Regions from separate parts of the Homo sapiens genome. Here region 2 is linked to region 1. Evidence: promoter capture Hi-C in human tissues and cell types (Jung and others, 2019). All regions are on one chromosome and are shown on one strand. Each heading gives the region's core, a stretch centred on a gene start or on the middle of the fragment in contact. The rest is flanking DNA. Distances are from core to core; before and after follow the strand shown.

Evidence for each region. Contacts are between HindIII fragments. The study calls those that stand out against the background at their distance.
Region 2: a fragment that was not itself captured here is called in contact with the fragment with the promoter of TCF25 in region 1 in 1 of the 25 tissues and cell types used here (dorsolateral prefrontal cortex).

The regions. Positions count from the first base shown.
Region 1 is chr16:89,872,212-89,874,911 of GRCh38, forward strand. TCF25 (TCF25 ribosome quality control complex subunit) reads left to right here and starts at 1,381. Exons shown (of 18, transcript NM_014972.3): 1 at 1,381-1,648. The coding sequence starts at 1,457. It overlaps LOC112268179 (a long non-coding RNA gene), which reads right to left and starts at 1,277. Exons shown (of 2, transcript XR_002957933.2): 1 at 757-1,277. RefSeq lists enhancers at 139-1,095, 866-1,025 and silencers at 1,106-1,225, 1,696-2,165. The HindIII fragment of the contact is 23,130 bases long and covers 1-2,700 here.
Region 2 is chr16:89,296,737-89,299,436 of GRCh38, forward strand. All of the region lies in intron 4 of ANKRD11 (ankyrin repeat domain containing 11), which reads right to left. It overlaps LOC124903757 (keratin-associated protein 5-2-like), which reads left to right. Exons shown (of 2, transcript XM_047435030.1): 1 at 1-28; 2 at 455-2,700. The coding sequence starts at 2,696. It overlaps LOC105371414 (a long non-coding RNA gene), which reads left to right. Exons shown (of 3, transcript NR_136339.1): 1 at 1-28; 2 at 455-1,226; 3 at 1,415-1,581. Among named protein-coding and RNA genes, the nearest start is that of ZNF778, 80 kb to the left of the region's middle. The HindIII fragment of the contact is 5,021 bases long and covers 1-2,700 here.

The DNA of each region.
Region 1 (2,700 bases), core at 131-2,630:
TCATACAGGAACACTTGGAAATGAAAGCCCACGTTAAAACCCTAAACCACGGCAGGTGCAGTGGCTCACACCTGTAATCCCAGCACTTTTGGAGGGTGAGGTGGGCAGATCACTTGAGGTCAGGAGTTCGAGACCAGCCTGGCCAACATGGTGAAACCCCATCTCTACTGAGTACAAAAATTAGCCGGGCATGGTGGCACATGCCTGTAGTCCCAGCTACTCGGGAGGCTGAGACAGGAGAAGTGCTTGAGCCTGGGAGATGGAGGTTGCAGTGAGCCGAGATTGCGCCACTGCACTCCAGCCTGGGCAACAGAGCAAGACCTCATCTCACAAAATAAAATAAAACCCTAACCCATCCTGGGAGGGGCCAGGCCGGCTCACCAGGGCTGCTGCTTGTGCTCATGAAGCCGCAGTAAGTCGGGCAGGAGGCTGCTGGCACCTGTCTTCTCTATGCCCTCCTGTCCCCATGTCCCCAACCCCAGGCACAGGAAGCTGTGCCCTCCGCCCACTGAACCCAGCACTGTCTCAGCCTCATCTACTTTATTTTTTTCATTTTTTTGAGACAGGGTCTGGCTCTGTCGCCCAGGCTGGAGTGCAGTGGCGCGATCTCGGCTCACTGCAGCCTCAGCCTCCCGAGTAGCTGGGATTACAGGCGTGCGCAGCCACGCCCAGCTAATTTTTGTATTTTTAGTAGAGGGAGTTTCACCGTGTTGCCCAACCTGGTCTCGAATTCCCGACCTCAGGTGATTCGCCCACCTTGGCCTCCCAAAGTGCTGGGATTACAAGCGTGAGCACCGCGCCCGGCCCTTAGATCGTGACAAACGCGGGCGGCCTGTCCTAGAACTGTCAGAACCACTGTCCCTAAAGAGGCCTCGGGCGGGCAGTAAGGGCCGCGTCACTCAATGCTGCTCGAGGGGCGGCGGCTCCAGGGCAGAGGCGGGCATCGACGGCTAGATCACTCGAATGACACCCTGACACGAAAAGGACCAACTAGCAACGTCCGGGACGCAGCTGAAATGCTGCAGGCACGGTGCGGGGACAGGCCCCGGCGGGCAGAACGCGGCTGCGGGTTCCGGGCCACATGGATGGGCAAGGCCGGGCAGGGCCGACTGTCGCCGGCTGCGCGCCCGTTACCCCGAATCGAAGCCCGTCATCCCCGCGGGGCACCTCTCCATGCCCGGTGCGCACGGCGCGCAGACACCCAGCTCTCCAGAGACCTGGCCCGGACCCCCCGGAGCCCGCCCAGACGCCGCCGCTGAAGCGGGAAAGTTCCGGAGAGCCGCGACGCGCAGGCGCCGCAGCCAGGTCCTGCCCCCACCCCTCGCGCCAAGAGTGCGCAGGCGCGCAGCCAGCTCCCCCGCCCCCGACCCCGCGCGAAGAGTGCGCAGGCGCGCCGACAGCCGAGTTTTCTGCGCTTCCTTCTCCCTCTCTCCAGACGTCGTGGTCGTTCGGTCCTATGTCGCGCCGGGCCCTCCGGAGGCTGAGGGGGGAACAGCGCGGCCAGGAGCCCCTCGGGCCCGGCGCCTTGCATTTCGATCTCCGTGATGACGATGACGCGGAAGAAGAAGGGCCCAAGCGGGAGCTTGGTGTCCGGCGTCCCGGGGGCGCAGGGAAGGAGGGCGTCCGAGTCAACAACCGCTTCGAGCTGGTGAGGAGCGCGGCGGCCCGGGTGGGGGTGGGGTGGCCCTTGACGTTGTGGGGCGGGGCGAGCGTCCAGCCGGGTCGGGGAGCGGGGTTGTGATGCCAGGGGTGGGAAGGGTGACGTGGGTCCCAGCCGCAGTGGGGAGGGCGGGGCCGTGCGTCGGGGCCAGGGCGACGCGGGTGGGCGGTGGCGTGGGGTGAAGACGGCGGGCCGCGGAGTTAGACTGGGTTCTAACCCCGGTGAGGTGGGCGGGGCTAAGGGATGGGGCGGGGCCGTGCTGTCGGGGCGGGGCGACCGAATGGGCGGGGTTAAGCGGGGTCCGGGTTGTGGAGGGTGCGGGGCCTTGATGCCAAGGGCGTGGCCAACGTCCGCGGGGCCGGGCCACGACGTGGGCGGGATTAAATGGGCCTGCGGCCACGTGGCTGTCGTGGGGCCGTGACGCTAAAGGGCGTGGCTAAAGACGGGGGGGTGGCGAGGCGATGGCGTGGGCGGGGTTAAATGAGGCCTGGGGCCACCGTGGGGGTGGGGCCACGGCGTAGGGGCAGGAGTCGGGTGGGGCTTCCCTTTCTCGAGTCTAGAGGGGCCTTCTCTCGGTTCCAGGGTTGAGGACTTGCCAGGCCTCTGCGAGCATTCTGCTTTAATCCTCACAACAACTCTGCCTAACCCAGGGCCTTGCTCTTCGCGCATCCCCATCAGCCTAACCCAGCGGATTAGTCTTACTCTTTGCTGCATCTCCGGCAGCTCGTTTCTGGCACAGGGAAGTAACAGTTTGACTGTATGGTTTGCTCATGCGGTCCTGTGACGTTTTCTCCTAAGCCCTGGCCTCCGTCTGTAACTCTGCCTCTGCGGGCTCTGCGATCCTCCCACCTCAGCCTCCTGAGTATCTAGGACTACAGGTGGATGTCACCACGCCCGGCTAATTTTTTTTTTTTTTCTTTTTTGTAGAGAAGAGTTTTCGCCTTGTTGCCCAGGCTGGTCTAGAACTTCTGCGCTCAAACAATCTGTCCACCTCAGCCTCACAAAGTGCTGGGACTACAGGCGTGAGTCACCATGCTTGG
Region 2 (2,700 bases), core at 191-2,690, 580 kb before region 1:
TGGGAGCCGGAAGGCCGGGATGAGGAAGGTGTGTCTCTCCAGGGAGGGTTTGCTTTTGCTGTGGTGGGGGCCCCAGGGAGTGTGGGGCACTTCCAGCAGCATAAAACAGCACAAATCCAAATGCCAGCCCCACCAGAGGGCAGGAATGGGTCAGAAGTCTCATTGGTGACCTCTCAAAGCCCCTCATCCCTCCTCAGCACCTGTCCCTCTTAGCTGGGGGGACAGTGTCTACCCTGATAGCCCAGTGTCCAGGAAGTGTGGCCCTCTCGAGGGGACAAGCTTTCCGTGGGGTCTGGGCCCAAAGCCCCTTCCTCTACCTCCCTGGGAGGTCTGAAGCTGGGCTCCAAGGCAGAGACCCTGAGGTTGGGCCCCAGGGACGTGGAGGTGTGTGGCCTCAGCTGCTCATCTGAACAAATGCCTTTTGTATCAATCATTTAGCACCTCTAATTTCTAGGCTTTTCTAGCAAGAGTCTTTTAGGAGACACAGGCCACGATACTGTCAACATAGGAAAATGTGCAACTCCTGCGTCCCACCGTAAAACTCGAAGACGTCAAAATACATTCTTGATTCTGCTCCACAAAGGGATGTTTCCATGGCGATATTTTCAAACAACAGAAAGTTCACGGCCGATGGCGGTTACAGCTCATGGAACTGATGGGCAGGGCCGGGTGCAGCTTTGTAGCACGGCTGCTGCTCACAGATTCTCTTCCATTTGACTAAAAACCATGCTGTCCACACCAAACATCTGGCCTCATCCGGATGTTCAAAGCCATGAAATACAGCACTTCTGGCCAAGAAGTCTAAATCACAGCCGATCTACACGAGGCGGATGGTCCACAACGCCAAGTTCCTACCCGGGCACTGAGCTCAACGCTCGCACAACTCCAAACGAGGGCGCAACCATATTCCCACTGACATCCTCCTTGGGGCAGCAAGACAAGCTCCGAACAGCCTGTCCTGGGCCAACAAGAGAAGCTGGCGGGCGCCCGCTGAGCACTGTGAGCCATCTTGTGGTGAGACTGGCTTCTCCTTCCAATCTCCAGGTTTCTCTCTCTTTCTGCCTTCTTTCTGTCAGTTACCGTCATTGATCACTTAAAGAAAGACAGGGCCTACCCCTGTCTGCTGCGTGACCTCAGCCCTCCCGCCTGCCGATGGGAGCTGGGTCATCTCTTACGCCTTTCAGCTTTGGCTTCTTCCGCAGTGTATGTGAAGGGGTCACACAGAGGTAAGGCTGTGCGTCCAGCCCTTGCCTGCACAACCTCCATGCCTTCCCCATCTCCAGGCCGGGGTGGGGTAGGGGTAGGGTGGGGTGGGGCGGAAGGACCAGTTCCACAGGAAGCCTGTGGAGGCAAACAGGGTTATGTGGCAAGGGTGGGAAGGAGCAGGGCCTGAGCCCCATGGTGGTTTCACCAGCATCCAGCGGTCACCATGGTGAACAAGAAGCCAGGAAGGAAGGAAGCAATGTCGGCAAAAGGGCTCAGATGACAACCAAACAGAACGGTTTCCCACCCTGGGCCTCCTTTCCACACACACAGCATCGTGGGTATTTTAAAATAAACAAGATCAACGTCCAAACCTGCGCTGAGGCCTGAGCTGTGTCCGTCACTCCTGCAGGGCACAGGCCTGCCTGGCCGAATGCATGGGCGGTGAGAGCACAGGGCTGGGGGGACCCCTCTGTCGAGGGGCCACAGCTCCTCACACAGCAGAGCTTTATGGATGAAAGGGCTGAGAGGCACAGACAGGCTGAGAAATGGGCCCAAAGTCCCACAGCATGGAGCCAGGAGGTAGCAGACGGCCCCTGCCCGCCCCCCTCACTTGGCTGACTGCTCCCACGGCAGCCACCACCTTTATCCTGAGTCCCGGGGTCCTCCATCAAATCGCTGAGCCTCGGGTGGTCTTGTGGACCCCAGCTTGTCTGTGTTGTGTTGACAACATGGGCCTGGCTACCGGCCTAAGTGCACTTCTGAGGGGTGTCAGGGAAGCCTTTGCTGCGGCTTGGGGATTACAGAATTTTAAACAGCAAGAACCTTCCCTTTGCTAGTCCAAGCTTCCCTTTGTATGAGAAACTGCTTACGTCTAGAGAGGAAAAATGGTTGAGAAATAGGAGGACCAGAGACCAATCACGCGGAGTTCTTAATCATGTGAAAATATTTTATTTTGACGTGCTTTTTCTTGAGTGCCTGAATGTGGTGGCTCTTAGGGTAACCCCAGAATCCTCACTGCGGCAACAAGACCTGGCCACCACCCTCACCTCGACCACCACGGCCTTCGCTGCAGCCCCACTCTGACTCCCCGGGGGCTGCTCACGTGCCAGCACCCACTGGCCAAGCATCCTCCGGCAGGACCCAAGTCCTCTGTATTCAGAGGCCGACCCTGCTTTCCAGAGACTCACGAGGTGGCAGAGAGTCAGGCTGTGGCAGGGGCCCCTGTGTATCGAGGAGAGGAGGAAGAGTCTGCAGAGGTTTCTAGGGAAGGAGATAGTGTGGAAGTGACTGTGGCTCTGGTCCTGCCTGGGAGGAGATCTACAGGGGAGGGGCCTGGCCTTGGGCTGGCCCTGCCCTGCGTGGGATCTGTGCCCTGCGTGGGATCCCTGCCCTGTGTGGGGTGCGTGGGGTCTGTGCCCTGTGTGGGGTGCCTGCCCTGTGTGGGGTGTGTGGGGTCTGTGCCCTGTGTGGGGTGCCTGCCCTGTGTGGGATGCA